Linked DNA regions of Homo sapiens: regions 2, 3 and 4 are each linked to region 1. The links are contacts of gene promoters, found by promoter capture Hi-C in blood cells and fetal thymus (Javierre and others, 2016). All regions are on one chromosome and are shown on one strand. Each heading gives the region's core, a stretch centred on a gene start or on the middle of the fragment in contact. The rest is flanking DNA. Distances are from core to core; before and after follow the strand shown.

Region 1 (5,983 bases), core at 3,031-5,530:
TACTCGGGAGGCTGAGGCAGGAGAATGGCATGAACCCAGGAGGCGGAGCTTGCAGTGAGCCAAGATCGTGTCACTGCACTCCAGCCTGGGCGACAGAGCGAGATTCCGTCTCAAAACAAAAAAAAAAGTTAATTTTTATAGCTGGGCATGGCAGCACATGCCTGTAATCCCAGCTAATTGAGAGGCTGAGGCAGGAGAATCGCTGGAACCTGGGAGGCAGAAGTTGCAGTGAGCCAAGATAGTGCCATTGCACTCTAGCTTGGGTAACAAGGGTGAAACTCATTCTCAAAAAAAAAAAAAATTAAAGTTAATTTTTATAGTCTAATAAATTGCTAAGCGGCCAGGATAAACACTCTGTGCCAGAAAATGCATGGATCGCTACCTTTCCTAGCAATAGCATGAAATGCTAGTTATCTACACCAAAAAGTAGAAGGCAGAAGAGTAATTCAACAAGTTTCTAAGTGACCTAATGTTTTCAACTGCATGTGCGTATTCTGAAGACTTGAGAGCCATGGTTTTTAAAAACAAGAAATTGAACTGCTATCTTACACAACTGGCGCACGTTTGTTAAACTGTTGTAAAAGATGGTGTTTTTTTAATCCACCGTTTTGGTCAAATATTTTAGGTAAACTCTAGATTGAAAAGCCCCACTTCAGAGCACATTTCACTCAAGGGTACCTCATTTGAAACAAGAAATAACTGTAAGATTGAAAACTAAGACTTCTGAAATTATTAGCTTAAAAATACCAAAACAGTATATTATTTACTTTTTCTCTTACCTAATTTTTTGAATAAAGGGAAGAATACAGTTAGCTTGGCAGTACTAGTTTTCAAACAATATAGAATTCAAGCAAGTTTAGGTCTTAAAATTCCTTATGTGTCTAAAACTGAGATGAAGTATGTCTAGTAGTATACTGGCCAAATATGAGTCTCAACAGATTCTTCTCAAGTAATCACAAGGATGCAACAGAATTTTAGGTCTAGGCTATCAATATCCTCAATGGGCACATTTAAAGGATTGTTACAACTAAAGTCCCACTATCCTTTTGAACATATTTTGAGTGTGCCTATTTCTCCTTTCCTTTTTCACCCCTTTTAGTTATCTCTCTCTTCCAATGTAACAAGGAAATAAAGTTAAATCCAACCTACATATTCAAAGGATTAGAAAACATGAAACCATTTTCTAATGAAAGCAGATTCATAAGTTTGATAAAGTGCCAATTTCTTATTAAACATAAGCATTTTAAGAGATGTTTTTGTTTTCAAATCTGACCTGATTTTTTAATAGGTCAGTACTAAATACATTCCATAATATATAATACAGTACTCAATCTAATCCAAAATTTTCTTTCTTAGCAATCTATTTTCTGTATTTAGAAAAATGTTTTTTATTTCAAAGAGCCTCTCAAAGAGCATTTCACGTATCTTTTACTGTTTTTCTCTCCACCTCCAAGGGGTCTGTCTAGATCAGTGCTGTTCAACAGAATTATATGTAAGTCATAAAGGAGAGCTACCTACATAAAATTTTGTAGCAGCCACGTTAAAAACTGGTAAGAGATTAGATTAATTTCAATTAACTTAGGCCAATATATTTTAGGAACTATCACTTCAATAAGTAGTCAACAGAAAAAAATTGATCAGATACCGTACTTTACTTTTCAATTCGATTAAAAAGTAAAAAATCTCATGTGTATTTTATACTTCACATTTTGATTCAGACGAGCCACATTTCAAATGCTCAATACAGTACATGGCTACCATATTTTTTAAACAGCACAGGTCTGGACAAAAATTTCTCCCAGTCCTACCTTAATTACTAAGTAACCTGAAAATGCTTTTAAACACATAATTTCTTAGAAGTTCCTTCTATAAAAGGAATCTCTTAAATGAGTATCACGAGAAACTTCACAAGAACTTAAAATGCCTTGTTTATAATTTCTAAAAATTAGATAAATGAAAGGCAGCAAAAAGTTACTAAAAGTTAAAGTCAGCAGGCCAGGCGTAGGCTCACACCTGTAATCCCAGCACTTTGGGAGGCTGAGACAGATGGATCACGAGCTCAGGAGTTCGAGATCAGTCTGACCAACATGGTGAAACCCCATCTCCACTAAAAATACAAAAACTAGCTGGGCGTGGTGACACGCGCCTGTAATCCCACCTACTCAGGAGGCTGAGGCAGGAGAATCGCTTTAACCCGGGAGGCGGAGGTTGCAGTGAGCCGAGATCGCGCCACTGCACTCTAGCCTGGGTAACAGAGCGAGACTCTATCTCAAAAAAAAAAAAAAAAAAAAAAAAAGTTAAGGATGGCAGATTAGAAAGTTAAAGTCGATCTTAATAAAACAAGGGAAAGGGAACAGAAAGGAAAGAGTGTCATCATCTGAAGGTTCATAAAGAATACTTGAATTACATTTTTAAAACTCAAAAATACATAAACTTAGGCACACTTTACCCTCTTATATGTCTCTTGAGATTTTCCTTTTAAAAACTCCCCCCTTAAAAAGTGATCCGAATTCTCTTAAAGAACATACCTGATTTTTGGCTGCAACTCCGATTGTTCTATTTTTTGATCCAAATGATATGACTGACCTAGAAAAAAATATATTCCAAAAAATTAAAAAGCATAAAGGTTGATATTTTAAACTGATAAGAGAAAAATACTAACATAAATGTCCTACCCATTAGGGGATAGGGAACAAGCATAGCACAATTTTAAGGTCTATAGCTTTCATCAGATACTCAAAGGGGGCTTCCACTTAATTGCTGCTCTGAGATCCAACCTAGGTGGCAGTTCTACTACCCCAAAAACCTCTGCTCGTGGCTCAGGAATTCTCCAGGTTCCAGTTATTATGAACCGAACATTAACTTTGAAAATGTTTTAAATATGTTAACGGTATTATTAATTTGACCCTACACACGACTAACAAAAAATAGGATGTGACTCTACCTTTCAGTCACCAACTCTGTACAAATCTAAATGTCATTGTCATACCGACTTTTGTTCTGATATACCACCGGCTTCTTTAGGAATCAAAAGTTTTTATGCAAACGCAAGCAAATGAACCCAAGTTACACCTCTGAAGTTTAAAGAGCACAAAGAGGTTCCCATCTGGGAGATTCTGCCGGAGAAAGAAAAAAATGATGCACAACAAGTACCATGGCAAAACAGAATATAAATGTCGAGGGAAAGGAGTGACTAATCAGTTACATCAAATCTGTTTTGAAGAGATGGAAAGTGACTTACAACTGTGAAACAACCTTCTCAGCCACCATGGAAATGGAACCGCACAATAACAGAGCAGAGACTAGCTTAAAAAGTCTTGTGAGAAGAAGGTAAGTGAATTAGGTTTTGGATTAGAGGAGTTATCTAATTCTGGATTACTAATTCAAATATAATCTAATTTTGGGTGAGTTACTCCTACCTGCTTAGGTATGAGTAATGGTAAACGAGATGAGCAAAACGGGAAAATACTGAGGGCATTAAGTACCACCCTTAAGTTTAAATTTGCTATAATAGAAACATCCTCAAACTATATTATCTGAGCAAGTGTTAAATAAAATAGCATCCTAAAAGCCAGAGAAGTGTCCAAGCAGAAGCTAGACAAGAAACCGTCAAAATCAGAGCATCACTGTAAGCTCTGAATAACCATACACTTGCAGAATGGATCTACTCATTTTCCTAGGGGAGAATCAAATTAATTGTACTAAATAACAATTAGTAGCTGATACAATAGAATCCACCACAATTATAGTTTAACAAACATATTAAGGGGAACTCCAATACTGCCCTCAGTTCACATTTTTCAGGGCCATACCTGTTGTCTTTGATTTCACACAGTAGTCCCTGTATAACACAATTTTTTTTCCCACTCTCTTCTCTGAAAAGCTTTTCTTTGTTTTATTGGATCAACCAGAACAAAGTATAAACTGTATCTAGGCATGAAAGCCTGAAATACTGTTTTCTTTCTTACTAAACTCCAATTAAAAAAACCTTAACCAAAACACAAACTTAGATCTGCAGGGGTAGACGTACAGGTTGCTCAGAACAGTCTTCCTAACGTTACTAACATTGCCAAATATTTTGCCTCAGATTTTCCACTCAACTTTCATAAACGTTCTCAGCACCCAAATAATTGTATTACCCCAGTCATTCATTCTACCTTTAGGTTCAATGTTTTCATTTTGCACTTTTCATCCTGAGCTTGGGACATTTGAAAAAAATTAATAGGTACAGTATTTTCCTTGAGATGAAATCATTTGTTTTCATCAATGCACATGCAGATATGTTTGTATATATTCTCGTCCGAAAATATCCCTTCACGAAACTTGCTTTTTAAAATGTTGCCCTTTGCCCACCCTATGCTCCTATAGAATATTTAGTTCAGTGACGACATCCATCCTCTTTTGGCGTCCTAGCACAAAAGTATGCAATTTTTATTCTCTTTTAAATAAACTGTGCAAAATTAATTTTAAAAATACGGTTTACAATTCCTCATGAATGGCAAAGAGCAAAAAAAAAGACGTTTACATCTTTCGACAATGATCCCGGGCATTAAGGCCAACAATGTTAGCAACGAAGAGACTGGGTAAAAAGAGGTGGGCTAATCTTTCATAGGACTGCTTCCGTGGTCGCTAACAACAATCCGCCTGCTCACTGGACAAGCAGCGACACAAGCTCTGGAAGCTTCCAGTTCATTTCGAGATTCACAATGCGGAAGAAAAAGGCCGGCAGCCCCGCTCCGCGGTGCGCAAAGATATGCGCGAAGGGAGGAGGACAAGCTGGAGGCGGCTCAGCCAGCTCAGAGAGGCCGGGTGGGGATACGGGGGCGGCCGCGGAAGGCGCAGGCTGCAGCCTGCCAAGAAAAGGGAGCGAAGTTGCGGGCTTTGCCGCAGCCCGACCCCCAGTAGGTTTTGAAAACCCCCAATAGGAAGCCCGCACAAGGTGACGACCCTTAGAGTCTCGACTCTGGGACTCCTCTCACCCCCGTGAATCCCTGAGACAATCCCTTCTCCAATTTGTGATGGCAAGCCCCCCATCCCTCCTCTGGCCGGGTCGCTGGTCCCTAGTTCCACGGAGGGGTGCGCCGCTGCCCAAACGCCTCCGTTTGCCGCGGTGATCCGTACAGCCAGCCCGCGATCTTGGGTCCCCACACTAAGGGCCCAGAACCTCCTCCCATCCACCCTCGCAGACTCCCACTTACGGGGTGCACCGGTCGCTGAACTCATTGGCGATGGTCTCGATGCCCCCGGCCCGGGCTACCGCGATGTAGCAGCTCTGCGAGCCCACGTCCAACCCCACCACCGACATGGCCGGCTCGCGGTCCGCCTCCGCCTCGGGTCTCGGTCTGCGTCCTCCGGCCCCCTGCCTGCTTCTCCTGCCGCCGCTTTCTGCCCTGGCCGCGTTCTGCTCCGGCCCGCGGGGTCTGGCCGTTCCTCTGACACTCAGAAGGACACACAGACAGCCGCGGCCTGTCAGGAGCCTCCTACTCCCCCGGGGACAGCGGCGGCTGGCTGATAAGAAACCCTGGGAGAAAGCGGGGCTCAGCCTCCGCAGGTCGCTCCGCACCTCGGGTTGCCTGCCTCACTCTGCCGCGGCTCGCACACCGGCGCCGGCGCTGAACTACCGACCCAAAAGGGGAGGTCCCACTTCCTCAGCCTTATGTATCGCACTGATCAGAACTTTCCAGAATCTGCGGCATTTACTCACCGGCGCCTCCACCGGCCCCTCCACGTGCCACTTCCGCTTCCTTCTTCTCGAGCCTTCTGGAAAGATTCTACCCAATGGGCAGCCGGTCCCCGGAGAACGGCCGCCGTTGCCATGGCAGCGACAGGGCCGCTCCCGTGCCATTGGCTCAAACCTGCCTCCGCCCACTCCCGCCCTAGCCACAGGCGTTTTGCTGCCCTAATAAAACAGGCAACGAAGAATGACTCCAAAACTCGGAATAGTCACAATTTACTACCGGGAGGTGGTGTCCGATCCTTAACG
Region 2 (5,983 bases), core at 1,631-4,130, 4.9 Mb before region 1:
TTCCTCTTTTACCCATCTCTTACCAGGGGTGCCTAAAAGATTATGGTCTCTCATAAGCCGATAATCTTCATCATTGAGTTCATTAATAAACTGATAATAGGCCTCTTCTCTGTGGAGACGCTCTTGCTGCCATCTTCTCTCATTTTCATGATGATTATGGTCTTGAGGTAAGGTTTCTTCACTGCCACCATCTGATCTCGATCTAGACTGATTCATCCTGAGATTCCTGGCTTTCTGTTCAAACAATATAAACAACATTCAAGGTGTTAAGTCATGGACCACATTTGGCTTTGTATTTTTAACTTGCAGTTTTTCTTAATTTTTAAATGTTGTCCCCTACCCAAATACTGTATTTGCCAAATCTTGCAGTGAGAAGCTTACATATAAAATGAAAAACAGCTTCTAGGAAATACAACACAATTGGCACTTACTTCTTTGCCTAAAGCCATTAAGTCAGACTGGATTTGGGTTTACCACACAATGCTCATGCCTGAATACCATAGTGATTATCTCATTTTTGACCATGTTGACGATCTGGAAAAGTTGATCCAGAAGTCCTCATTTATGTTTCAGGATCTGGGTACTTCACATTAATTACAAATTTTAGGCTTGAATTATGCACATTCTTCACTTAATGAGCAAAGGGATACTGGGATGATATAATTTACATTTGTTTTCAGCAAGGTATTCTTTCCAAAATAAGGCTCATGAATGTAATATTATCCCCCACTGCACTTTGATGAGGTGAAAATCATTTAGCCTAATTAATATCTACTGAACAAACTGGAAGGTGGTCTCTTATTAAAGCTTACCAGGAAGACTTTGAAACCCAACAGGAAACAAGACATCATGTATGGCTCAAGGATTGTGAAAGTGCATCAGAGCACTTTGTATCACCCCATATCAAGCCTCATCCTTAAGCCTGGAATGGTTAGTCCCAGGAGTTTCAGAATGCCAGTGAAACTTCCTGACTTTGCCTAAGAAACCACTATTTTTGGATTATATTTAAGTGTCACTCCTGAGAAGCTCACTTTTAAATTACATGGAAATCAAGAGAGAAAGATGTTTGTTTCACAAATATTTTAGAATTTCTTAAATACATCTATTCAGTAAGTCACACTAAAGCAATGGTTCTCAAACTCACTTAAGGGTATTTTTAAAAATCTAGATGCCCAAATCTCATCCCCAATCCTTGATTAGAGTTTTCCAGGGTAGGACCAGGTCTGCTGTTAAGAGCTAATTTGGGTGTTCTGCAGATGAAATAAACTATTCCTCGACAATTTCTGGCATGTCACTAAAGGGTATGAGTAATACAGCACCTGACTCAGTAGAGGCTGGAGGCTCAAATGGCTAGGCTACCAGTGAAGCAACTGTGCAACTCTGCCTCTCGAAATACACTAGGTATTTAATAAGCAAGCTGCTTTAAATATAAGGTGAAATTAGCCTACAAGTCTAAAATACTGTTGGAGTAAGCAACTATTCAATTTCACCTGTAACACTAAATTACAAATTCAAGGATTTTTTTCACTGTGGTTATTTTATTATGTCATTTTGAACAAATGACCTAGTAACATTATCCACTCAAATATGAATTAACACTACTAAAAACTCAAGATCTCTATCTTCAGATTAAGACCATAATTAGCAAAGAGCATATTTCGTAGGTACAGCAATAATAGGATTTTTGTAATAAATAATTTTACAAGTTGAAGCCTATCATAAAATCAAGTTACCCTAATATTATTTAAAACTTGAGCTTCTCCTTAAAGGTAATTTTCTTATACAGTTAATCACAATGAAAACAAAGCGAATACCTTATTTTCCTTTCAACACGCTTTTAACATATGCCATGGTATCCATCCTTCAATTGTTTGTGCCTTTTTTGAGAGCTGCCCATCTGAAGCAATAAAAGAGAGTTGAATAATTCAATAAACTGTTTCTTTAAAGGCCAGGAACGGGTGGTAGTCTCCCCACTCTGCTGCAAAGCCAAAGCAAATTCTCCAGTGGATTTTGTTAGACACATCTAGAAAATTAGATCCCCATACAATTAGGTCACGAAAACCTCCCGCAAGGCCCCTACCTTCCGCAACAAACTTAGGCCTTTCGTCCTACACTGTCACTGTTCCTGGGTTTACGCCTCCTCTCTCAAAGGCCTTCCTTCCTATCCCGTTCCCATTCGGATGTTACCAGGGTTAGGCGTCTCCGGCTTACTTCTAAACCTTGACTTTCTTGCCACCCCCGCCCTCCGTCCCGCTACTGGTTTCTTTCCCGGCCGTTGCGACGGAAGCTCGCGCCGGGGGACGATCCCCACTACGATAAATAAAGTGGGCTCAAGAGGCCCAACCAACCTCTTCCCAACCGAGCCTCAAGTAACGCTTCCCTTAGAGACCTAGATTCTCACAAGGAAGCAGGTGATAGACGGTGCATCCCAACCAATCACCAGCCAGCGGAGCGCAATAAGAAGGCAGTTAACCAATCGGAGAAGAGATGGGTGGCTCGAAGGATGGCCTGCTTTCCCCGGCGTCTCCAGGAAGTAGTGGTGGGACCCAGATCTTTCCCTCGAGCCCACCTCTCCAGGTCTTGGGCCTTCGCCCTCCTGTCCGGAGAACGTGTGCTGTGGGCGGCCGTTCTCTCGGGTGCTGGAGGCTGTGGTTGGGAGGCGGGATAGGCTTGCCGCCGCGCCTCCGGAGCCCGCTGTGCCCTCGAATTGGCCACTGAGGAGAGAAGCCGGAAGCCCGTGCTGCAGCGTGGGGTCGTCCAGCTGGAGGGGATACTCGGGAGGAAGAACGGCAGGCCCCAGCCCTTCTTTCCCGACAGCCACGCCGCCCACTTGGCGGCGGGGAGTCGCTCCGCAGCCGGCCCGGAGCTCGCCCGTGCAACTGAAAACTGCGTCCGTCGGGAGCTAGGGTGCCTGGCGTCCCGCGTTCCGCCCTCTTGCGCCGCCCTTACAGTGCCTCCTCCTCGAGGCCAAATGCCCGGCCGCTCAGCGCTCGTGGCAGCCGCGTAGTTGCAGAGACACGGTCTGCTTTCCAGGCTTGGGAAGTCCCAGCACTTAACTCTGCGCGTCGGTGTCGCTCGTTTGCCAGCCAGACTATAAAGTGCACCCAACGGTGTATGCGTCTCTTTACTTCCGGGTGTAACGTACTACCCAGCCAGGCCCTTTCCCTTGCTGTGCTTTGGAACCTGGAAATTACAAACCCTAATAAATTCTGAAGTCTGTCTGTCTGTCTATCTCTATTTGAGACAAGGTCTCATCCTGTCGCCCAGGCTAGAGCGATCGTAGCTCACTGCAGCCTCCAGCGATCCTCCCTCCTCATCCCAGTAGCTGGAACTACAGGCGCTTGCCATTAATTTCACATTTTTTCTTTTGTAGAGACGGGGGTCTCGCTATGTTGCCCAGGCTGGTTTCGTACTCGGCCTCAAGCAATCCTCTCACCTCAGCAAAATGGGATTACAGGCATGAGGCACCGCACCCCACTATATTTTGTGTTTTTTCACCTTCCCGCTAGGAAAGCAGTTTGAAACTCCCAACATTCCTCCCTCTGATTTTATTTCTGAGATGTGAGGCTTACTAAACTTACCTCACCGTTAGTTAAGATGCTGAGTAGGTCTCTGTCTAACCTGGTATAGTCCCCTTTCCTGACATCCCTACCATCTGATGACTTCATCACTGGAGAGTGCTCACAATGCCGTTACTTGTTATTCTTCCGTTTGTTCTTTCATTTCTGCATTAACTTTTGAGGAACTACCATATCCCCATTATTATGCTGGGCACCTGGATAACAAGCTACATGCAGTCCTTAGCATCAATGAGCTACCAGTGTAGTAAGGATCTATGGACAAGTGTTTAAAATAAGCATATGGATATGGATACTAAAATGGAAATATATAAAACAGCCTAGAAAGCCCTTCCAGATCTTTCTTCTGCTTACATTTACAGGCTGTTGTCTTGGCACTCCGAAACTGCTTGAAGTTCCGCCACAAGATATGGGAACTCCTAAGCAACCCCCAACTCCACTTTTACCTAATTTCCTCTGTCTCCCAAAACTCAGCTCAGTTCTCATCTTTAAGGAATTTTTCCTGATACCTCTGAAATAACACCCTTACCTCACCCTCCAGCCCGATATTTACACATAAAACTAAGCAAATGTCCCTTTTGGGGGCTCCCATACTCCCTCTATATATAAAACCCTATTTTAGCATGTATTCATGTATTTAACAAATAGTGAGTGTGACTATGTATTAGGTGCTGGTGATGACAGCCGTGAATCAGACAGTCATGTCCTCATAGAATGAAGTCCTTGCCCTCTTTTCCCATGGAAAAAGAGCCATTGAGCAAATACTTAAGATGATTTTCTGTTTTTAGGTCTTTACTACCTAGAGTCTGAACTGCTTAAGTGTGATCAAATGGTCTAATTCATTTTTGTAATCCCAGAACTTAGCACAGCACTTGGCAGAACATTCTCCTCAGCCTACTGCATAGATGAGCAGAGAAAAATGCAATCTTTTGGCAAACGGGATTAATGCACACAGTACAACGACTTCAGATATTGTGAACACACATCATAGAAAATAACAAGTAGAAATCATTTTTAATATCTGTGAATTTTGGAGAGTGCAATCAAATGCAATAATCCAAGTGCAAATACTTTTTACATGTTGAGTGGAAAAGACATATGTGTCTCTTCCTATTTTTCCTATTTCCTATTATATACCCTAAGAATAAAAAAAAAACTATTATAAAAATGTCTAAATAAAAATCCAATCAAGTGATTTACCAGGTAGGAAGTTGCAGGTTTTTGTGAGTAGAGAATCAGGTAATGTATGTAACTTGAATCCAACACCTTGCTTCAGTTTTTGTAGTCCAAGACAAAATGACTACAAAGAGGGGCTTAGATACAACAGCTGGAACAGACAGATGAATCATTCTGGATATCTACTCCAGGTCTCAGAACCTGCCAAGGTCTCTGGTCTAATTAATTTCTGTTTATTGGATTGGTACCTGGCCTTTGTAGTGTGTATGCCTCATGTAACTCCTGGACTTTTTACAATTAGGAATACAAAGATCTAAAATAATTAAAACCATAACATTAAAAGGATTCTCTGTATATCTGGTAAATTATGTACTTGTCATGTTTAAAAGATTTTGGCTTCATAAAACGACAGCCTTAATTACAATTTAAAACAAAATGGAGCACTCGATTTCAAGTTTTAAGTTGAAGTTGAAATCTTGCTAAGTTTATGGATGGCATCAGAGCAGCAAAGAGAAATATAGGCTCCCCATATTGTTTTATTATTAGTTTAAAAATTATTATATAAGATTTAAAGACGAAATTACATGTAACATTTGAAGTACTTGTGAATGAGATAAAATATTAAATGTATAAATACAGTTTAAAATGTTGGTTTGAAGATATTAAATATGTATATGAATGAGATTGAAAGTTAGTGAAGGGCTAATTCCAAATGACTGTTAAGATTTACTATACTTGACCAGGCACAGCTGCTCACACCTGTAATCCCAGCACTTTGGGAGGCCAAGGCGGGCAGATCATGAGGTCAAGAGATTGAGACCATCCTGGCCAACATGGTGAAACCCCATCTCTACTAAAATTACAAAAATTAGCTGGGTGTGGTGGCGCACACCTGTAGTCCCAGCTACTTGGGAGGCTGAGGCAGGAGAATCGCTTGAACTTGGGAGGCGGAGGTTGCAGTGAGCTGAGATTGTGCCACTGCACTCCAGCCTGGTAACAGAGCGAGACTCCATCTCAAAAAAAACAAAAACAGAAAGATTTACTATGCTTACCACTAGAATAATAAGAGCTGTAAACCAAACGTAAAAACCTAAGTTGTAACTAGGACATTGAATTTGGAACTAATAAGTTGAATATTAACTGTTTAAGACAAAGATTTTTTAAATAATATGTTCTTTATTTCCTTATAGCTCTTTTAACAGCCTTATTGAGATATAATTCACATACCA
Region 3 (5,983 bases), core at 3,484-5,983, 3.5 Mb before region 1:
CAGGGAACAGTTCAAGCTTCCTCACTGGATCAATTCTCTTTTGCTTTCCCTCTGACCAATGACTGTTTCAAAGATTTGGAGAAGTCTGTGAGCCAAGCCAGATCAAAGCCAATTTGGATCCAATTTGTTCATTAATGCATGCTGTCAACAAAAAGAGTCAAACTCTGCAACATATTTGAAGAGATTTATCGTGAGCCAAATCTGAGTGACCATGGCCCATGACACAGCCTTCAGGAGGTCCTAAGAACATGTGCCCAAGATGGTAGGGGTGCAGCTTGGTTTTATACATTTTAGGGAGGCATGAGACATCAATCAAAAAATTTTAAGAAATACATTGGTTTGGTCCAGAAAGGTGGGACAATTGCAGGGGGTCGGGGGTGGGGTGGGGGGTTGGGGGGGGTAGCAGGGAGTGCCATTCCAAGCCATAGGTAAATTTAAACATTTTCTGGTTGACAGTCGGTTGAGTTTGTCTAAAGCCCTGGGATCAACAGAAAGGAATGTCTGGGTTAAGACAAAGGATTGTGGAGACCCAAGTTCTTACTTTCAGAGGAAGCCTTCAGGTAGTAGGCTTCGATAGGTGGTAGTAAAACGTTTCTTATCGGACTTAAAGTCTATGTTAATGTTAATGTCAGAGAGGTATAACAAGTCATGTCCGACCTCCACTTCCCACTCATGGCCTGAAACTGTCTCTCAGGTTAAATTTTAAAAGACCCCTGGATGAGGAGGAAGTCCATTCAGATGGCTGGGGAGAGGGGGAAGCTTAGAATTTTATTTTTGGTTTACAATACATTAATATTTGTTTAAGTACTTAGGGATTCTGCAGTTAGCAAAATAGATAGGATCCCAGCTCTAGGAAGCACACATTCTAAAGGATAGAACCTACAACACCTGCTTCTTTAAAAGCATACTAACTAGAGGACAATTTATTATTGTAATGTCATGAGCACTTGCTTGTTAAAAAATTCCTTTTTTGAGATGGAGTCTAGCTCTATCACCCAGGCTGGAGCGCAGTGGCGCAATCTCAGCTCACTGAAACCTCTAGCTCCCGGGTTCAAGCGATTTCTCCTGCCTCAGCCTCCTGAGTAGCTGGGATTACAGGCACCTGCCACCACGCCCAGCTAATTTTCGTATTTTTAGTAGAGACAGGGTTTCACTGTGTTGGCCAGGCTGGTCTTGAACTCCTGACCTCGTGATCGCCCGCCTCAGCCTCCCAAAGTGCTAGAATTATAAGCGTGAGTCACTGCACCTGGCCAAAAAATTCCTCTTAATAACTTCTTAGAAGGCTAATACACAAAATAGCCACCTTTTCTGAATCCAACCAAACAAAATAACTTATTAACCACAGATTTTCCTACTGCTTTGTATTTTCTGAGGAAAAGAAACAGGTGCCAGGAAAGCTAAAAGGGATGTCTTTTGTAAGACTCTCAGGCCCTCCTACAGGGTCAATTTAGGTAGGCCTGCCCCAGTCTTCTAATTCTACATGCAAGATACATATGTATTACTTTTTCAAACAACACTGCTTCCTAAATAGAGGAGAACCTATGAAATGAGACCTGTGATTCTTTTTTAAAAACCTAGATGCATTTGGATAGAGGAAGGTGGGCCTGTGAACTCTAGCCCTGTAAGCAGGAAGGAAAGTTAAATAGTTCCTCATAATACAATTTAAAGATATCGGGTGGCAATTGTAAAGGAAAGAAAGAAGAGGGGAAGAAGGCCAAAGAGCCAACCAGATTACAAGAGCCTGGAGTCCTCCTTTCTTTGATGGTGGCCAAAATATATTTTAAGGATAGAAATGCCTAATATTCAATGTCAACACTTCTGATATCGCTCCACTGTGAACCCCTTCACCCTCCCCTTCCTCTAAATCTCTCATAAAGCTTACCATACTCATAAAGCCTTTCTGTGAACTCTTTTTCTTTTCTATTCTTTCCTAGCTCCTGTGAGACACAACTATCCAACAACTGCATCATGGATCTCTCAACCATCCATTTAGCACCTCCTTAGATTAGTCCAAAACTGAACTTATCTTCCCTTCTACACCTCTACCATCAATTGTTTTTAACTGCTCCTTCTCATATCCTCCAACATTCCACTAGCTCATTAATGTCATCATCTAAAGGAACAACTAATATTTACTGAGCACTTGGAATGTGCTAGGTACCCTGCCAAAGGCATTACATGCATAATTCCTCAAACCCTACTCAACAGGTACGACAATCATTTCCCAAATGTTAGGAAATCAAAGTTCTGTCAGGATAGTTATTCTAAGGGTAAGTAATAGAATTAGAATTTGACCCGTTTTAATTTCACAGCCAGCTTACCCAGTACATGTCAATCAATGCCTGAAGTCAAACAACCCAGGATTCATCCTTCCCTCCTTAAGCCTACCCAGTCACTTACCTAGTCCAGCCTCCTAGTCATACCTCTTAAACACCACGTCATTTCTCCTTCCACTGCCAGCACACTAGCATTTACTAAGTCCTTACTATCTGGCAATCACTATTCTAAGTAATAGACATGTTTTTTCAAGTTCTATCCCCCAAACTCTGAGATGACAAACCTAAGGAACAAAGAGGTTTCAGTGTATGACAGAGCCTGATTCCACCCCAGGTAATCTGAATAGAGAATCCCTGAGCACTTAACCCCTCCATTAGAACAGCCTCCAACTTAGTCTCCATATCGCCCATCTGGAAGCCCACCATCCTCCAGACGCTGCAGATATCTTTCTGGAATGCTTACCCGTTATCATGACATTCTCCTGCTTAAAATTAGCAGCTCAGTATCACTGACTGGATAAAGTCCAAATTTCTTAATCTGGTATAAAAAATCCTTCATTTTTCTGTTCAAGTCAATTCAGTAAATATTTTAGTGCCCAATGTAAGCAAGAAAAGGTGCCAAGTGTTCTGAAATGAATAATACATGTCCCTGACTACTACCTCCACCTCGGACACTGGGTCCTTCGGCCAGACAAGCCCATATGCAAAGCTCGTAATACAACAGCCCAAAGACACATACATTTATTTTTAAGTGGCCTGCGTGCTACGTGCCTACAATGTACGAAATCCCAAACCAATCTGAAGACTAAGTGCCTACGTAACACCTATTCTTACAGGTCTCCAGGCAGAAATGCTCCCTAAGTTCAAATTACTTCAGGGTAACTAGTGGGATAAAGGCATGGATCAGTTTCCAAATGAGAAAACTGGGCAAGAAGCAACCCCCGCCATCAATGGCTGGCATGCAGTAGGTACTTTATCAGTGGCTAAATGAATAAATAATGAAAAAATTTCAAAGTTGATGAGAGAAACAAGATATATGGAGAATGTAACACACAAGTGGGCCGAATTAAAAGTGATGTTATTCTACTTTGGTTCTCATTTGGCCTACTTTTACCCCATGGGAAAACTCACATGTGGGACTCGGACAAGCTAAAAAGCCAAAACTTTGTTATTCATGGCTCAACAAAGCTTTGACAAGCCAAAAAGGATACCAGATTCCCGCTTCCTTCTTTACCTGCCAAAGTCCATTTTCTAAAGAGGTGTGGGGGTGGGAATCAAATCTAGCAAAGTAAATAAAATTGATCTACTGAGATCCAACTTCATTAGTGCTGCATCGAAGTACATGCAAAAGAAATATCAAAACCTGTCCTGGGAAGAAGGCCAATTTACAAGTAAGTACTATTGCCGCAAGAATGTGAAATTCTTAAAGGCAGTTCCAATAAGCTGGAGCTCACAAGTGTTCCTCCTCCTGCACCGCCACCGCTTTTCACTCAACTTTGTTTCTGATTTCTGTGATTTTAAAAAGCATAATATACACAGCAAAGCCCATGCATAAGTGTACTTTAGCTCCTGGTACAAACGAACGTCTGGATTCATAAACTTAACGTAAACTGAAATACTAAAAGAAACACTACATGAGTCAAAAGTCCTTGTTTAAAACGTGGCATACAGCTTTGAAAAGCGAGTGATGTATTTCCTGAATGATGCTTTGTGTGCAACTGCTTCCAAATCAAGATTCATATTTTTAAATTACCCCCTGGAAGATGTCAAATCTCTCTCCCACCCTCTCCAGCCTAAAGAGAAAGGTGAGAATTCACAGGCAACAGGCTGGGGCGGAGGGAATGATCTCTCCCCATCCCTTTCCAGAGAACAAAACCCGATAAAGGCAGCTAGTGCCACTCTCATTGCCGACACCACACACACACAGAGGAAATTTAAACACTCACCCCACCTCTCCCTTCCCTTAAGAAGCAAACGACGCCAAGCTCTGCACCACGGTGGCCGGAACCAGCAAACGCTAACAGCCGGAGGCCGCCCGCCTCCCGGGCGCCTGCAGGCGGCGGGCACCGGGCGCCGACTCTCCCTCCTGGACCAGACCCACACCCGAGTCCACGCCAGCCCCGCAGCCCGGGCGAGCGAAGACAGCCGCGAAGGACCAAGGCTCCGGGGCGAGCTGTGGCGCCGCTCCGGCCGCCTCCCGGGGCGCGGCGCTGACCCACACCCAGCTGACGCCCGCACCTGAGGCGGCTGCCCGCAGCCAGCGAGAGGGCGCGCAGCGAGGCGGGCAGGGCAAAGTTACTCACTGGGAAAGCGCGGCTGCCCGGGCCGCGCACGGGCTCCTGGCGCCGCTGCTCGGCACCAGCTCCCGCTCTCCGCGGCCCGCTGAGGGAGCGGAGAGCCTGCCCGGCTCCGCTCCGCCAGGAATCGCCGCCGCCGCCGCCGCCGCCGCGGATTTCCTGGCAAAAAGCAAACTCCGGCCAAGACTTCACTTCTCAACCGCCCCTGCTGCCTTCCCGGGGGCAGCGCCAAGGCCGAGCGGCCCAACCCGCACCCGGGCCAATCGGAGGTAGCACAGGGCGGGAGGTGGGCGGACCAGAGGGCGGCTCCACCTATCCGAGAGCTCGGGAGGCGGGCCAGAAGGGACCCGTCACTCCCGGGTTAGAGTGAGACCACTCCGCCCTCGCCGCCCGCCTCCCCCACTCGCCCCGGGCTGTCCCCGCCGCCCGCCTGATTCCCCTGCGGAAGCCCCGCTGGCTAGGTGTCTGCGCGCACCCCCGGCCGCCGCCAAGAGTGGCACAGCTGGGGAAGGAGTGAACATCCAGAGGAATCGCGGGGCGGGGTGGGGGGAGGCCAGGAGAACAGGTGGCGCAGGGAAGCAGAAACGTAGTTGCGCTGGACAGCTGGAGTCGGGCAGGGTCGGGGCCAGCGGCGAGGGGACAAGAAGGGCCGATTCGAGAGGAAGCGCACCTGAGGGAGCACAGCGAAGGCCGGGACGCAGGGAGCTGGATGGAGAGCGAGCCTGGGCGGCGAAAGGTTGCCGAGGCGGGGGCTGGGCGCCTGGGAACAAAGGTGAGGGCGGGTTCCGCAGGTGAGGAGGTTTGAGGAGCCACTGGGGAGAAAGGGAAAAGGAAGTCTACAGCCGGAGAGGACGCGCTCTGGGGGTAGAAGGAATCCTAGGACGGAAAGGATAAGGTGGGAAACAGTTTTCTCCCAAACTCTCACTCCCCCAAAAGAGACATTTCTTTCTTGCCCTATTTTGACCCAGTTGAAAATGCAACTGCAAGCTCCCCGGTGAAACAAATACCGCCTTCAACCTTCGTATTCTGTGGTGACTCATCTCGCACGTGACCCCCCTCCCTCTTCAAGGTGTGTTGACCGACTACAGTTTAAGCCTGTCGTCCCACAAAAGGCCCGGGAGGGCCGGGGTCCCAGGAAGGGCCATCCTGGGTCAACACCGCCCCAGTTGGGAAGTCGGGCCGCTTTCGGACTTGCCACTGGGAAGGGAAGTGATTTGGGGGCGGCAGGTAAGGCCGCGCCCCTTCGCCATCACCTGGGGAAAGGTACCAGAGTTGAGCCGGGGCGCCCGCAGGCCTGTCTGGGCCTCGGGGTAAGGCGGCGCTGGCCCCGCCCCCTGCCCCTCCCGCCGCGAGTGGCCTCGCGTGGTCGCCCAGGTGAGCCGCGGGGCCGCGAGCCACCGCTCACCCCGC
Region 4 (5,983 bases), core at 2,296-4,795, 3.0 Mb before region 1:
TCTCAATCTTTATTATTATTAATTTTGAGATGAAGTCTCGCTCTGTTGCCCAGGCTGGAATGCAATGGCGCAATCTCGGCTCACTGTAACCTCCGCCTCCCAGGTTCAAGCAATTCTCCTGCCTCAGCCTCCCGAGAAGCTGGGATTACAGGTGCCTGCCACCATGCCTAGCTAATTTTCTGTATTTTTGGTAGAGACGGGGTTTCACCACGTTGGTCAGGCTGGTCTCAAACTCCTTACCTCAAGTGATCCACCCACTTCCGCCTCCCAAAGTGCTAGGATTACAGGTGTGAGCCAATGCGCTTGGCCTCAATTATTAGCATTTAATAGAAATTAACATTACCCTTTAGCAATGTAGTCTCTGTTGCTGGGGAAATGCTGTTGGAGGTCAAGTATACATTTTATGAATAATTTATGGATTATTTGCAGTTTTGGATGTAATCTTCATTAACATGAAAATAACTTAGAGTTGACTACATATTTATTTTTAGTAAAGGAATACTCAACAATGAACCCTGCTTAAAAAGACAACCCTACTATAGGAATAAGTAGTTGTCTCCTAAAAAAGTGTGGAGATATGAAATGTGTGGCAAATAAGTTTATTTTTTATTTATTGACCGAGAGGGTCTCACTGCTGTGCAGGTTGGCATAAAATGGCGCCTTCAAAGCTCACTGCATCCTGGAACTCCTGAGCCCAAATGATCCTCTGCCTCAGCCTCCCCAGTAGCTAGGACTATAGGCAAGTGCCTCTACACCTGGCTAATTTTTAAATTGTTTTGTATAGACAGGGTCTTGCTAGTTTTCCCAAGAGGGTCTTGAACTCCCGGCCTCAAGTGATCCTCTTGCCTTGGCTTCCTTCCAAAGCAGTGAGGTTAGAGGTGTGAGCCACTGTGCCCTGCCATGTTGACTTTTAAAAACCCTGTAATAACTTCCAATTGTCCTCAAGAAAAAGTTCAATTCTTTTTTTTTTTTTTGAGATGGAGCCTTGCTCTGTCGCCCAGGCTAGAGTGCAGTGGTGCGATCTCACTGCAACCTCTGCCTCCCGGGTTCAAGCAATTCTTCTGTCTCAGCCTCCCGAGTAGGTGAGATTACAGGTGCCTGCTACCACACCCAGCTAATTTTTGTATTTTTAGCAGAGACGGGGGTTTCACCATGTTGGCCAGGCTGGTCTTGAACTCCTGACCTCGTGATCTGCTCGCCTCAGCCTCCCAAAGTGCTGGGATTACAGGCGTGAGCCACTGCGCCTGGCCAAAAGTTCAATTCTTTAACATGGCCCTACAAGGACTTTTGTGGACTCTGCTCCATTTTCCACTATCACTGTATTCTAACAATAAAAGCTGTTTGCCTAGAATGCTCTTTGACTATACACTGACTACCACTAGCAGCAATACTACTTTTTTTTCGAGATGGAGTCTCGCTCTGTCGCCCAGGCTGGCGTGCAATGACGAGATCTCGGCTCACTGCAACCTCTGCTTCCCAGGTTCAAGTGATTCTTATGTCTCAGCCTCCCCAGTAGCTGGGATCACAGGCGCTCGCCACCACGCCCAGTAATTTTTTTGTATTTTTGTAGAGACGGTGTTTTACCAGGTTGGCCAGACTGGTCTCGAACTCCTGATCTCAGGTGATCCACCCGCCTTGGCCTCCCAAAGTGCTGGGATTACAGGCGTGAGCCACTGCGCCTGGCCAATACTATTAATAATAGTTACAACCTACCGAATTCTTATTAGGCATGGGACAGTTTATATACATTATTAGTTATACTTTATGAAGTAGGTACTATTCTTAATCCAGGTGTACAGACAAGGCACAGAGAAATGAAGCAATTAACTGAGAGGAACACAGCTATTAAAGTGTAGGCACTTTAATCTGTTTCAATCCAGATCTGTCTGAATTCAATGATGTTCCCAAACTTGGAACATGAAAATATCAACTTTCTCCAAGAAGTCTGACATGTTTAATATCCTCTAATAGCAAATGTGATAAGGTTAGCACTTAAGACACTGGTTTACAACGGACCTGTGTACTTGATGCCTCCCCAACCGGAAGATAAGCCATCTGAACTCACTTAAGGCGGCATGTTCACTTTTGCTTCCCCAGCTCCACAGTTAAGTGTACCACAGTTTCTGGTACACGTAATGCGTGTTAATAAAGATTTGTTGAATAATCAAATAAGCGAAACTGCTTTTAAACAGAAAGCCATAATACAATGTTATTACCTTCGAATTTGGCTAGAGAACATCACCAAGCTTACCAGTTTGTGATCTAGACTCCACTTTTCCCCATTTTTTTCAGTGTGCTACTTTTGCTTATATCCATTCTTCTGTGACTTTGTTTGCCACAATTCCTTAAATACTTCCACCCCTCCTTTTCATAACAGCGATCTGCCGTTTGTGAACCTCTTTTACAGAGAAAAACTAGAATGTTACTTTTCCTTTCATAGCAATTCTTTAAAATTTCTGAAAGCCTTTAAAAGGGTATTAGCGCAAACATCAGAGATCGCTGAGGTTAAAACTATCTTTTAAAAATGAATTTCACCGTCTCAAAAAAAATAAAAATGAATTTCAAATCAAGGCTAGGCTGATTGGAGAAAAGCAACCTAGTATATTTATAAAGGTCTTCCAGTGCTGTCTAAGCAGTGTTGTCCCAGGTGGCATCCTATTTTTCATAATTTACCGAAGGCCCTTGGTAATATAAATACAGAGAATAACAGGTGCTGCACTGAGCAGGGGGTCTGTCTAAATCAACCTTTTTGGCTCCATTTTTTGACAAAGGGCCAAGAGGTTAGCGTAATCGGTCCAGTAGTTCTCATTACCTTCGAGGGGAAGGGGAAAGAGGAGAGGGGCGAAGAAAGGAAACGGGGAGAGGAAGTGTGGCAAATAGAAGATATTCTTCAGGTAGAGCCAGGGCTCGGGCCGCGTCCCCAGGTGGCCCCTCCAAACGACCGTTTACCTTGTCAATTTTCTCTTTTCAATGAAAAAAAAAAAAAAGACATCTGGCTTTTTAAGTAAGAGAATATACAAATAAGGAAGGTATCAGGTCTCGTGAGAATTCGGCGCCAGATCCGCGTCCGGAACCCCACCGAGAGCCGCCGGTCCAACCGCCGATAGCTCGCGGATGCCCCCGGGGGCCCGACGCCGGCCAGGCTTCCCCTAGCGCTCCCGCTACCCATAAGCCCTCGCGTCTCAGCGCGCACGCGCAGCGGCGACGGCCGTCTCAGGAAGAGGAAAATGGAATAAACAACTCGGAGGAACCAGAGCGCGAGAGAGCGAGTGGAGGCAGAATTTAAAAATAAACCGGCCCCTCCGCCTTCCCCACCCGCTTGCCGCTGCCGCTCCCTCTTCCCCTGCCCGCGCCCTCGAAGTCCCCGTCTGGGCCCGCGCGCTCACCCCGTCGTCCCGCGCGGCCCCTTTAAGAAAAGAGAACGAGAGAGTGAGTGAGAGAATCCCAACTCTCCCCCTACCCTCCCTCCTTCTACCCCCTCCTCCCTCCCCTCTCCCCTCCCCCTTCTCCCCGGGCGGCTCCGGCTCCCGCAGCGGGACAGACCCACCCGCCCAGGCTTTTATCCGGCACCGGCAGCGTCTTCCTTTCCTCCCCCGTCTATGGTGGTGGCGGCGGCGGCTCCTCGGGCGGCGGCGGAAGACGAGGCTGCGGCGTTGCCATGAACAGTGGCGGCGGCCTCCCGCCCCCCTCGGCCGCCGCCTCCCCTTCCTCCTCCTCGCTGGCGGCGGCGGTGGCGGTGGTGGCCCCGCCGGGGGTCGGGGGTGTCCCCGGCGGGGCGGCGGTAGGAGTGAAGCTGAAGTACTGCCGCTACTACGCTAAGGATAAGACTTGCTTCTACGGGGAGGAGTGTCAGTTCCTGCATGAGGACCCTGCCGCCGGGGCTGCCCCGGGCCTCGGCCTCCATAGCAACAGCGTCCCCCTGGCTCTGGCTGGTGCACCCGTGGCCGGCTTTCCGCCGGGAGCCGTCGCGGGCGGGGGAGCTGGGCCGCCCCCCGGGCCCAAGAAGCCGGACCTGGGGGACCCGGGGACCGGAGCCGCAGCCGGCGGAGGAGGCAGTAGCGGGGGACTCGATGGACCGCGGCTGGCAAGTGAGTGTTTTTCGGGCGGGGCGGGCCGCGGCGGCGGAGGGCAGGCCTGGGCCGGATGAGGCCCTGCTGCCGACGGGAGCTGAGCACGGCCCGCGGGCTCCCCCCCTCACCTCCCAAGGCGGTCTGAGAGGCCTAGGCCGGGCCTGAGCCCTCCTTCCTTCTTCCTGCTTCCCCTCCCCACTGCCTTCGGCAAGTCGGAGAGCGCGGGGAGGTTGGGTTCCCGGGAACGTGGGTGGGAGGACTGGGGTGATGTGAAGGGGGGGCGGGGAGGAAGGGGGATGGGCTGTGGCGTGCGGAGTGTGAGAAAGGGGGTGTCGTTTCCGGGGGGTGTGGAAAGGGGCTGGGTTTGCAGGCACATGTGTTTTGCGTGTCCTTGTGGAGTGGCGTCTGCAGAGTGTTGAGGTTCCCTAGTGGGGAGGGGTGTGTTTGTGTGTGTGTGTGTGTGTGTGTGTGTGTGTGTGTGTAGGGGGCGGGAGGTGAGGGGCGGGCTTAAGGCTTCGTGGAGTAGGTTGAAAGAACGGAAAAAGTTTGTAGAAGGCTTGCGGGAGAAAGGTTTTGCAGGCAGGAAATGCTTTCTAAGGATTAGGAGGGAGCGGACTGTCGCGTTCAAAGTGTGCTCAGGTTTAATCGAGAGTTTAGAGTAGGGATTTCACAAAGACGCATTTCATCTGAGTTTCCCTGAAAGCTAGAATAAGTTTGCTGGTGTCAGCTGGGATCCTGTCTTCTATAGCTTTGTATCAAGCAAACTCAGCATTGTGTCTTGAATGCATGTCATGTGCAGCCTGCGTTTATGTGCGACTGAGCACTTGGGTGGGGACATCTTAAGGCTGTTTATATTTCTTTTTCATGTGTTGTTGTTGTTGTTGTTGTTGTTGTTTTGGAGAGAGTCTCGCCCTGTCGCTCAGGCTGGAGTGCAGTTGCGCGATCTCAGCTCACTGCAACCTCCGCCTCCCGAGTTCAAGCGATTCTGTTGCCTCTGCCTACGGAGTAGCTGGGACTACAGGCGCGCGCCACCACGGCCAGATAATTTTTTGTAGTTTTAGTTGAGATAGTAGTCTCGTTGTGTTGGCCAGGCTGGTCTCAAACTGCTGGCCTCAAGTGATCTGTCCTCCTCAGCCTCTCAGTGTGTTGTTATCTATTGACCTGAAGCTTGTTAGTTGTTAGTGGAGTTTACAATTGAATGTGAGCGTAATCTGTTAGAGAATGTTGCCTTTACGAATAGAGCCGGTGCCAGATGTCCCTGTTTTGTTTCTTAGTATATTGAGCGTTTCTAAACCAAATAGGAGTCCTACTTTCTTGGGAATTCTGGAGAACTAGATCTTAAAATAATCTGATAGGCAGTTCAATTTGTACATGAGAACATTTTGTCTTTTTCTTAAACACTGTTAATGAACCTGATAGGAAGTTTTAGCATTTAATTGGTCTATGAGGATTATTTAATATCTTCCCCGGGGTTTTGCTTTCTTGCTTTTTCTTTCGAGACGGGATCTTCCTATGTTGCCCAAGCTGGCCTGGAACTCCTGGGCTCAAGCGATCTTCCTGCCTGGGCCTCCCAAAGTGCTGGGATTACAGGAGTGAGGCACCATGCTGGGCCAAGTGTTGTTCTGTTCTGTTCTTTTCTCCTTTCTCTCTTCTTTCTTTTTCTTTTATAGAAGTGTTTCATTTGTTGTGATGGGCTTGACTTTAATGAAGATATATTTGCTAAGGCTGATAATGCTAAGAAAATTAATTTTGTAAATTCAGATGTTTTGTAAAACAAATGGTTACTTATGGGTGGAATTTTATCACTTTCGAGCATCAACTTTGCATTTTCAGGTTAAAGTTTTGCTGGATGTGTGAGTCGTGACTCAGTAGTAATGTTTGATTAGTAACCAATGACACTGAACAATAGTTTT

The links. The method cuts DNA at HindIII sites, captures the fragments that hold promoters and counts their contacts. A CHiCAGO score of 5 or more calls a contact.
Region 2: the fragment with the promoter of RNF6 here is called in contact with a fragment that was not itself captured in region 1 in 2 of 17 cell types (total B cells and neutrophils); the score reaches 8.9 in total B cells.
Region 3: the fragment with the promoter of LNX2 here is called in contact with a fragment that was not itself captured in region 1 in 1 of 17 cell types (fetal thymus); the score reaches 5.8 in fetal thymus.
Region 4: a contact is called between the fragment with the promoter of PAN3 here and a fragment that was not itself captured in region 1, in 2 of 17 cell types (non-activated CD4 T cells and activated CD4 T cells). The highest score is 7.1, in non-activated CD4 T cells.

What each region holds. Positions count from the first base shown.
Region 1 is chr13:31,156,278-31,162,260 of GRCh38, forward strand. HSPH1 (heat shock protein family H (Hsp110) member 1) reads right to left here and starts at 5,627. Exons shown (of 18, transcript NM_006644.4): 1 at 5,199-5,627; 2 at 2,529-2,586. The coding sequence starts at 5,305. RefSeq lists enhancers at 4,721-5,266, 5,267-5,812, 5,424-5,503, 5,634-5,753. The HindIII fragment of the contact is 798 bases long and covers 3,882-4,679 here.
Region 2 is chr13:26,219,434-26,225,416 of GRCh38, forward strand. RNF6 (ring finger protein 6) reads right to left here and starts at 2,881. Exons shown (of 5, transcript NM_005977.4): 1 at 2,570-2,881; 2 at 1,815-1,897; 3 at 24-234. The coding sequence starts at 216. RefSeq lists enhancers at 1,653-2,534, 2,535-3,416, 2,562-2,941 and a silencer at 2,062-2,111. The HindIII fragment of the contact is 7,611 bases long and covers 806-5,983 here.
Region 3 is chr13:27,615,796-27,621,778 of GRCh38, forward strand. LNX2 (ligand of numb-protein X 2) reads right to left here and starts at 4,734. Exons shown (of 10, transcript NM_153371.4): 1 at 4,580-4,734. It also overlaps a transcript of POLR1D not described here. RefSeq lists silencers at 4,284-5,173, 5,794-5,983 and an enhancer at 4,762-5,490. The HindIII fragment of the contact is 4,924 bases long and covers 3,463-5,983 here.
Region 4 is chr13:28,135,000-28,140,982 of GRCh38, forward strand. PAN3 (poly(A) specific ribonuclease subunit PAN3) reads left to right here and starts at 3,546. Exons shown (of 19, transcript NM_175854.8): 1 at 3,546-4,088. The coding sequence starts at 3,659. PAN3-AS1 (PAN3 antisense RNA 1) reads right to left here and starts at 4,175. Exons shown (of 2, transcript NR_029383.1): 1 at 3,548-4,175; 2 at 1,844-3,406. RefSeq lists silencers at 3,391-3,500, 3,691-3,770, 3,811-4,210 and an enhancer at 4,293-4,587. The HindIII fragment of the contact is 2,991 bases long and covers 2,245-5,235 here.